3 separate regions of the Homo sapiens genome follow, and all the other regions are linked to region 1. The links are contacts of gene promoters, found by promoter capture Hi-C in blood cells and fetal thymus (Javierre and others, 2016). All regions are on one chromosome and are shown on one strand. The core of a region is centred on a gene start or on the middle of the fragment in contact, and the rest is flanking DNA. Distances in the headings are between cores, read along the strand shown. Region 1 holds the start of BACE2 (beta-secretase 2). Region 2 overlaps BACE2 (beta-secretase 2). Region 3 overlaps BACE2 (beta-secretase 2).

Region 1 (3,322 bases), core at 398-2,897:
AAAGGCAACTAGAATCAAAGTTTGAATATACGCTTTTGAAGGTTTTTTTTTCCCCCTAAACTAATTAAACAACTACAGAAGTTATTCGGCAGTTTCCTTTTTTAAAAGAATTAGCATGGCATGTCTTTCCTCTTAAAGTCTTGAATAATTTAATGAGAATTATACAAAAGTCATGAGTATGTTCTATTTATGGGGGAATCATAGCTGAATCAAAACCCAAATGACAATGTTAAAAATAAAAATAAACTATCTTCAAATAGTGCATTCAATTGAGCAAAGGACTTCAAATCCCACTTGGATTAGACAGTTTGAAAGTAGGAGGGGGCAGATCAATTGGGATTTTTTTTTTTTTTTTTTCAGATCACTGTGCTTGGGAACATTTGTTTCTTGCTACAAAAAGTGTTAGTAAATGAACATCAGAGTAAGAGAAAAGGAAAGCTGTTTGATTTTATTTTTGTGTTGTAATCGGGATACCACTTGGTCCCCGGACACCTCACTCAGCCCCTGTTTTTTTCCCGGTAGCTGGAATGCTTTTCACACTCTGCACACCCGCGTGTAGATGCATCGCTCCGTGCAGAGGGGCAGGGCCGCCGGATGAGCGAGGACACAGCTGACAAACCAACTCCGAGAAAGGAAAGCGGGCGCAGGGGAGACGCTGCTCCTTCCTCAGAGCAGCAAGCGAGCCACTTCTTAACCGGGTTGCTTTTAGCTGAGCTCATGCATAAATCCTTTTTAAAGGGTACTGCGCCTTTGGAAGCCGGCCACGAGCCTCTTTAGCAATGAGACAGCATGGTGGTGGGGTGGGGGGGGGGCGGGGGGGAGGGAGGGTATGAACACGAGGTGATTTTCCCCATAATAGCCCGTCGCCCAAGGCCCACCGCTCCGTCTCCCGCTGGAAGTAGGTGTCGCCCGCAAGAAGGAAATCACGTTATTGGAGGCGGCAAGTTCCAGGTCTCCTCTCCCGCCCAGCCCCGCGGAGGGGGAGCTCACAAGTTCTGAAACACTCGCGCACACCCCTCAGTGCGCCCCGGGCGGGGGCTGCCGTCCTCCGCGACTCAAGAGCGAGCGCCCCCGCTCCCCGGCCCACCCGAGCCCCTCTGCGTTCCCCGCTCTTCTGTGCGGGGACAGCTGCTGCTTTGGGGGCGACGCTAAGCCGCGTGGAGGCGTCTCTGGACAGCCCCCTCCCTCCAACGAGCCCGAAAAGCCCGCGGCAGCAGCCGGGGGTCCCTACCTTCTGCGGGGGGGTCCCGATCAGCATCTCCAGGTAGTAGCCGCGGCCAGAGTCCCCCTGCAGGTTGTCTACCATGGCCAAGAAGTTGGCGGCGCCCGCGGGGGACGCCAGGGCAGGCTCCAGGGCGAGCGCCAAGCCGTCGGCGTGGCGCTCGGCAGGGGTCCCGGGTCCCGGGGTGGGCGCAACTACGCGGTTCGTGGCCGCGGCCACCCGGAGGGGCAGCGTGAAGGGCGCGGGGGCCAGCTCCGGGGCGGCGCGCAGGAGCCACTGGGCCAGCAGAGGCAGCAGCAGCGCCCGGGCCAGTGCGCCCATGCCCACGGCGGGGCCCGGGGGGCGCGCCCAGCCTAGCCGGTCCCGTCCCGTCCGGCAGCCGCGGCTCAGCGACTCGGCCGGCGCGCGGGGCTGCGGGCAGGGATGGGCGCGCACCGGGACCGGCGGCGGCGGGGAGGACGGGAGGAGGGCCCAGGGGAGGAGGCTCGCGGGAGGGGAGGAGGCTCGCGGGAGGGGAGAAGGCGGAGGCCGGGGAGGCGGGCGCGGAGGCGCAGAGCCGCCCCAGCCCGCGCCGCCAAGTTGGGCAAGTTCTTCTCCGCTGCCCCCTCTGGCGGCCGCGACTGCCCCGCAGCGGCCCAGCCCCTCCCCCGCGGCCAAGGTCACAGCGGGGCTCGGGGGGCGCCGGGGTCCACCTGCGCCTGCCCTCCCCACCCTCGCCGGGCTCAGGCCGCGCCTCTTCCCCGGGAAACTCGAGTCCCGAATTTCCTCGGAAAGCGCCCCAGCGGCCACGGCCAACGGATGTGACGAGGCTCATCTGATACCGGGGGGAAAGTTTCGAGAACCCTTAAAGGGGCAGCGAGGGCCTGAACTAGGGCCCCGGCCCCGCGCGCTTGGGGGTCCGCGGGGGTCTATTCGCCCGGCAGTGGCGGGAGCTTCCGGGGGTGACTCGGAGGTCAGCGAGGAGAGCGGTGGATCGGGAAGGAGCCTGGAGCCTCGCGCGCCTTTCCGAGCCTGCGCCTCCCCTCGCCAAGCTCCTCCGCCTCATTTCAGTCGCCGGGTCTGGCTGCTTTCGAGGCGTTTCCCGTCCGCTGCCCCCGAGCCCCCGCCCTCAGTCCAGCCCGTTCCCCGGCCTCATCCCCCGGCGGCCCCTGGGTGGTTTTAAAGAGGTCTCAGTGGAGGCTGGGAGGGTGGAGGGTGGAAGGAGGCAGAGGAGGATGCGAGAGCTTTGGAGAATTTTCCCTAAAAATCGGGGGAGGTGGGGGGCGTGGCTGCTGCTGGCGCCTGGCCCCAGCCTCATTGCCCCCCCTTACTCCCTCTGTTGCCCACAGCTAGCTGCGAAGCTGGGCTTCACCCCAGCCACCTTCCCCCCACCCCCGCCCCCTTCGCCCCCTCCGCCGCGCCCCTGTCCCTAATGCAGGTCAGATGCTACTGGAACCCGCTGCCTCCCCTGGCACCCAGCCCTCAGGCCACCTAGTAAGTTGCTGTCAGGATCCCAAATCAGGGCCACGAGTCCACCCTGCTGTGATCCCTGCCCTTCTCCCCCACCTCCCCTTCTATCCCCAGCCAGCTCTCTGCGGACTGTCTAATTAATACTCGTTTAGCCATAGACGCCAAGACGCAGAAATGCGTTGAGTAATGCAAGCAACGAGGGTTATTTTATTTTAGATACTAAAGGCAGGGGGGACAATTAGACAAGCTAAAGTCCATCGATTTCTACAGAAACAAGGAATAGAAAATTCTTTGTACCTCCTCCAGCTGAATTATGTTGGCTGTTTTAAAAAACAAACAAGCCCATCTTCAAACAGTGGGGAGTTAGAAGCCAAGCTTCCCCGAATCACTGCAATTTTCAGCTACTTCTACTCAAGATTTGATTTTTATTCCTGTGTTCCCAATTTTAGAATCACGTCTAGCTCTGCAAGGGACCTTTATGTCAGAGATCTTCAAATGTATTGATTTTCAGATGACTTTAACCATAAATCACACTTCCCCCAAACTATATCTCAACTTTAACAAATCCCCAACTCCATGAAGAAAGGCATAGCTGGATCCCGTGATATAACTTAAGTTGATATTCTCCATAAATCTGCATAGTTATTCCAG
Region 2 (3,028 bases), core at 466-2,965, 65 kb before region 1:
AAATACTGAATTATTCAGTCCATTTTGACAATTTGGGTTCATTCCTCAAGTTCAGAAATATACAAAGACTAATTATCTTGAAATGCTTGGAGAATAGGATCTAGAACAGAGGTTGGCAATTTCTTTCCATAAAGAAACAAATAATAGACGTTTTAGGTTTGTAGGCCATGGGATCTCTGTGATAACTACTCAGCTCTCAAACGTAATGTGGAAGCAGCCACAGACAATGTGTAAGTAAACTTGCATAGCTGCATGGCTGTGTTCTGATAGAACTTTATTTACTAAAACAGGCAGCAGGTCAGATTTGGCTCATGGGCTAGAGTTTGCCAACTCCTGGTGTATTAGTCTGTTTTTACACTGTGATAAAGGCATACCTAAGACTGGGTAATTTATAAAGAGAAAGAAGTTTAATGGGCTCACAATTCTACGTGGCTGGGGAGGCCTCACAATCATGGTGGAAGGTGAAAGGCATGTCTTACATGGGGAAGGGAAGAGAGAAATGAAAGCCAGTGAAAGGGATTTCCCCTTATAAAACCATCAGATCTCGTAAAACTTATTCACTGCCACGAAGACAGTGTATGGGGAAAAACCGCCCCCTTGATTCAATTATCTCCCACTGGGTCCCTCCCACAATACATGGTAATTATGGGAGCTACAATTCAAGATGAGATTTGAGTGGGGTCACAGCCAAACCATACTACCTGGTCTGGTAGAGTAATCGTTTGTTGTTGCTGAGATGGAGTCTCGCTATGTCACCAAGGCTGGAGTGCAATGCTGCCATCTCAGCTCACTGCAACCTCCGCCTCCTGGGTTCAAGCGATTCTGCTGCCTCAGCCTCCCTAATAGCTGGGATTACAGGCGCATGCCACCATGCCCAGCTAATTTTTGTATTTTTAGTAGAGATGGGGTTTCACTATGTTGGTCAGGCTGGTCTCAAACTCCTGAACTCAGGTGATCCACCTGCTTCAGCCTCCCAAAGTGCTGGGATTACAGGCGTGAGCCACCTTGCCCAGCCCTGGTAGAGTAATTGTATCTTTCCTAAACAGTCTAAAATGCTATGACTTCCTTTTGAAAAGTTTAGTTTCACTCTGTCCAGGCTATAGAAAACTCTGTAGAATTTGTAGTGTTAGTAAGAACCTGAACCAGCCTGCATATCTATTTAGCATGTCTTCTCTAGTTTCCTGCTCAGGTTGCTGGTCTCCTTACAGAGGGAGCACTCTGGATATTTTGGTGTCATTTCCAGAGACAGCAGAGGCAGCTGGAGTTATACTGCCTGGGTTCAAATATGAGTTCAATCCCTTATTAGCTGTGTGACCCAGGGCCAAGTTATTTATTTCTCTATGCCTCGGTTTCCTCAACTAAAAAATGGTGATAATATAATACCATCCCTCGTGAAGTTAATTATGCAGATTAAAAGAGTTAATATTGTAAAGCATGTAGAACAAAAGCTTGGAACACAGGAGATATGCCACAAAATAGCTGCTATTATTATAATTAATCATTTGCTGCCTTTTTTCAGGCTATGAGTTATTATTAGAAAATTCAAGTCTGGTAATCCCAGCACTTTGGGAGGCGAGGCAGGTGGATCATGAGGTCAGGAGATCGAGACTATCCTGGCTAACACGGTGAAACCCCGTCTCTACTGAAAATACAAAAAATTAGCCAAGTGTGGTGGCGGGCGCCTGTAGTCCCAGCTACTCGGGAGGCTGAGGCAGGAGAATGGCATGAACCCGGGAGGTGGAGCTTGCAGTGAGCCGATATCGTGCCACTGCACTCCAGCCTGGGCAACAGAGCGAGACTCTGTCTCAAAAAAAAAAAAAAAAAATTCAAGTCTGTTAGGCCATGTTTGCATTGCTATAAAGGAATACCCAAGGGTGAATAATTCATAAGGAAAAGAGGTATGATTTTGGCTCATGGTTCTGTAGGCTGTGCATGAAGCATGTTGCTGGCATCTGCTTCTGGTGAGGCCTCAGGAAGCTTCCACTCAAGGTGGAGGGCGAAGGGGGACACAGTACATTACATGGTGAGAGCTGGGGCAAGAGAGAGAGGAGGAGGTGCCTGGCTCCTTTAAACAACCAGCTCTCATGTGAACTAACGGAGCAAGAACTCACTCATCACCTTGATGAGAGCAACAAGCCATTCATGAGGGATCTGTCCCCATGACCCAAATGCCTCCACTGAGGCCCCAGGTCCAACACTGGGAATCACATTTCAACATGAGATTTGCACCCAAAGCATATCATCAGGATGTTTTTGTTTGTTTGTTTGTTTTCTGGAAAATGCTCCTATAGAGCTACTCTTACTGAATCTAAAGCTGTCTCATTCTAAAGTCCAACCACCCCATGAAAGGAGCAAGTGTGTGTGGGGTGTCTCAGCTAAGGAGGTCAAGGCGAGGTGGTGACGCTTCAAGCTCTTGTGCAACCGGTGTCTAAACGGCAGAGTTCCTCTCTGCCCTGCACCAGCGCTGTCCAACAGAACCTCCTGTGACGACAGAAATATCCTGCCCAATACGCTGGCCGCTTGTGACTAATGAACACTTGAAATGCGATTATAGTGCAACTGAAAGACCGAACTTCTATTTAACATTCATTTAAATTTAAATAGCCACATGTGACTTGTGGCTAGCCTTGTAGAAAGCACAGTCCTAGATAATGTTAAAAAAAAAAAAAAAAAGGTAATTCTCAGTTCATATTCATATTCTCTGGGTTCCTTGAACTAAACCTCTGAGTAAAACCCCAGAGAAGAATCATTCATAAGTGACTCTAGGGGTTATTATTAGCGTAGAGTTTCCAGCACTTTAAATGAAAAACATGCCTTCATCTTCATTTTCTAACGTCCCACCTCTTGCGACTAAAATGCTTTGGCTCTCAATTGCTCTGCACAATAATTAAATACATGGAGCAAGAAACCTGGATGGGCTTCTCCTTGGCAATGTCCATTCTGGGTGCTCAGAAACAGCAATCAATCAGGGATGTGGGTGGCCAGGAAAAAGCCTGCTCACAGTAATAAAAACACTTTGAACCAAATT
Region 3 (3,010 bases), core at 390-2,889, 110 kb before region 1:
AAGCGGCCCACAAAACAGCAACCACGGAAAAAGCCAATGGGATGAGAATTGGACTTCCAGACATCTCTCCGTGTGAAATGCATTCTGAGATTATGAGTTTTCAACAAGCTGAGAGCGGATGTGACAACGGGCCCTGATACAAGAGCCCCCTCCTCCCGTTCCGTGCCGTCATGTTCTTTCCAAGAGGCTGCAACTCAAATCTTCTCTAGTGAAAACAGCACAGAAGGTTCTTCTGGCTGCTGGAGAGTCTTCCAGGACACCATGACAAGCCGACGTGGCCTCCACGTCTCTTTGGCAGAGTCCTATATTTCTCAGTATGGTGGTGACCCGGGGACCCAGGGAGCAGAGCAGATGGCTGAAACATCCACACGTAGCCTACTGTGAATACAAACGATACTTCTGCAGGAGGGGACACTTAGCACTTTTGGTGGAATTCTGTAATATAGCCAACCCACCCCAAAAAAATGCAAAGGGAACACTGAACTTGGCACACAAGCAGGAGAGAGGGGATACTGTCTTTTAACTCTTCTCCTAATGACATCAGGTCATATAAGGCTATGTCAAGGAAACGGCTTCCACTTTTCTTTGGCAAAGGCCTCGATAAGTGACAGAAAGTAGGGACTGCCCCCCGAAATAAGGCTACCACTGCACAACTGTTACCAAAGATTAAACACCCCCAAAGGAAGAAGCACAGAGGTCAACTGCTGAACAATTTAAGCTGATTGGATGGGTATGCTTGAGGCTAACCAGTTCTGCAAAGGGAAACACACGGTTTCGAAGCACGGGGATAAGTAGACGTTACCTTGTGTCTTCTGCACATCTTGCATCTTCCTTCCCTGACAGCTGGTCAGAAATAGGGGCATCAGGCCATTTCCCTGTTTCCCAACAGGGTAATAGCCAACCTACTTCCAGAGAAGATTTGGAAAAAGAGACAACTAAGCTAGTGAAATAGAATAGTTTTTTCTCATCAAAACATGATTTATTAATTTTAAGCAAGAGTAAGCATATGTGATAGTGGCCAGCTTGGGGATAGAACTCTTCCTGGTTGATGCACAGTTCAGCACCTGTTGGGTCTTGGCTGTTGGGATGATAATTCTTTTGGGTGAGGGGAACAGCCGTGGTCAAGGCTGCCTGCACCCCCATCCAGGCACAGGACCCTGGGCAAAGTCTCAAAAGAGGTAGTGTTTTTACTTTCGCACCAACAATACAACATAAGTATTGGGTACAAAAGAGGAGATTTCCTTCCCCTCTACCTCAACGGGCAAAAGGCCTTCCATCTTCAGAAGAGGCTTGTGAGGACCATCGGTTGATGACCTCCTAGTGAATTCTGGCTCCCATTCAGAGCACAGAGAAACCCACAAAAGGGGCCTGTGGCTCTGGTTCCAGGTCTCAAGGGTACAGCTTGGTTACATCCCCAGGCCCCAGGCTGATTCTCCTGCCATCATACTGCAAGCCTTCCTGTACCACTTTGACCCAGGTTGAGGTCTGGCGGAAAATAACCTCAAAGGCAATTAATACAAAAAGCTTCCTGTAAGCTAAGAGGGGTTATCAACTATATGTACTTATTTTTCCAGAGATTGAAGAGAGAAGAGAACGAGCCAAGGCTTGGTTTTGTTTTATGTTGGTGGCACATGTAGACACTTTGGCATAACGAACCCCATAGAGCCTGCAGCCCAATCCACTCTGTTTTGGTTTAGAATGAAGTTTTTTTTTTAATTATTTTTCTTGGAAGTAGGGAGGATTTGAAAGCTTGAAAATCAAGAATCAAAAGACAGTGAATCTAGAAGGCATCTGGGAGCAGAACAGAGATTGAAGACGGGTGGGCACAGGAGAAAGCGCCACCATCGATCCCGGCTGCTGCCCTGGAAATGTGATTTTCTTAATAGCTGAGTTCATGGTTGCTTGAGGTCAGGCCTGGCTATTCATTTCCAGCGATGTCTGACCAGAGAGGACTCATCATTGACGACCTCAGGGTCACGGGGGCGACGCTGACACCGGAACGGCAGCAGCAGCAGGACGATTAAGACAAGGAGGATGGCTCCACAGACGCTCATGAGCGCATAGGACACAATCCACAAAATGGGCTCGCTCAAAGACTGAGCGGGGACACAGTTGCTGGCTACATCCTCTGTTGAGAAAGGCCCGGAAATTTCAGACACTGCAGCACCTGCAATTTCTGGGGAGACAGAAAGGGAAAATCCACAGCTGTGAAATGAGCGGTCCACCTCTCACATTGGACACAGACAGAACCCCTTGGTTTATTAAACCACAGTTAAAGTCCACTGAGGTCCCAGTGGCTTAGACAGCTCAGGAAGCACTGAGTGGGGTCACGGCTCAGCGTGCCTTTGGGGGTCCAGTCCCTGCAAACTGGAACGACGGCATGTTTTAAGGTGTGTGGGTACCGAGCCTAGGTGTGGAGGGGAACTGCAGCAGGGCACATATGGAAGCACCCTGTGCTTCATGGAATGCCAGCGACACTGCGGTACTACACAGGTGAGAGTGCAGGTCAGCACCTGGTCATGACAGCTGTGTGGGTTGTGCTTCCTCAGTGGAGATGAAAAAAGAGGAGAAAGAGAAGGAGAATTTACCGCAGAAAGCTCAGCTGGACCTGCCTACGTCATGGGGAATTTTCCCCAGTGGAGTCAACCTGAGTTCACTCCCTACCATGGATTCTACAACAGATAGGGACCTCATATCAACCTGACTCATAGTCTTAGTGGGTTGTGAGACCTCCGGGGGTCAGGCTGGCTTGAGAGACCCTCCCTGCCCCACTCTTATCCTAGGTCTCATCAACAGCCAGGAGCAGTAAGTGAATGCAACACCTAATTCATGACATCACTGGTGACAAAGAGAAACAGTTAAAATTCACCCGGTGACTTCTGCTAGAGACTCTTGAATAACTTCAAACCAAGAAGGAAGTTGAGATGATTTCTTAAAGCCGGTTTGTGGATTATCTGTAGACTTCCTTTGCCTACACTAGGCTTCTCTGCCCCTTTCAGGAATATGGGAT

The links. Contacts are between HindIII fragments. The CHiCAGO score rates a contact against its expected background, and 5 or more counts as called.
Region 2: a fragment that was not itself captured here is called in contact with the fragment with the promoter of BACE2 in region 1 in 2 of 17 cell types (naive B cells and total B cells); the score reaches 5.4 in naive B cells.
Region 3: a contact is called between a fragment that was not itself captured here and the fragment with the promoter of BACE2 in region 1, in 1 of 17 cell types (total B cells). The highest score is 5.7, in total B cells.

The regions. Positions count from the first base shown.
Region 1 is chr21:41,166,485-41,169,806 of GRCh38, reverse strand. It overlaps BACE2 (beta-secretase 2), which reads right to left and starts at 1,647. Exons shown (of 9, transcript NM_012105.5): 1 at 1,232-1,647. The coding sequence starts at 1,543. It overlaps MIR3197 (microRNA 3197), which reads right to left and starts at 2,250; the gene lies at 2,178-2,250. RefSeq lists a silencer at 1,639-2,088. The HindIII fragment of the contact is 3,467 bases long and covers 1-3,048 here.
Region 2 is chr21:41,231,666-41,234,693 of GRCh38, reverse strand. All of the region lies in intron 2 of BACE2 (beta-secretase 2), which reads right to left. Among named protein-coding and RNA genes, the nearest start is that of PLAC4, 48 kb to the right of the region's middle. The HindIII fragment of the contact is 529 bases long and covers 1,451-1,979 here.
Region 3 is chr21:41,274,537-41,277,546 of GRCh38, reverse strand. It overlaps BACE2 (beta-secretase 2), which reads right to left. Exons shown (of 9, transcript NM_012105.5): 9 at 1-2,176. The coding sequence ends at 1,923. Among named protein-coding and RNA genes, the nearest start is that of FAM3B, 41 kb to the left of the region's middle. RefSeq lists an enhancer at 1,775-2,974. The HindIII fragment of the contact is 225 bases long and covers 1,527-1,751 here.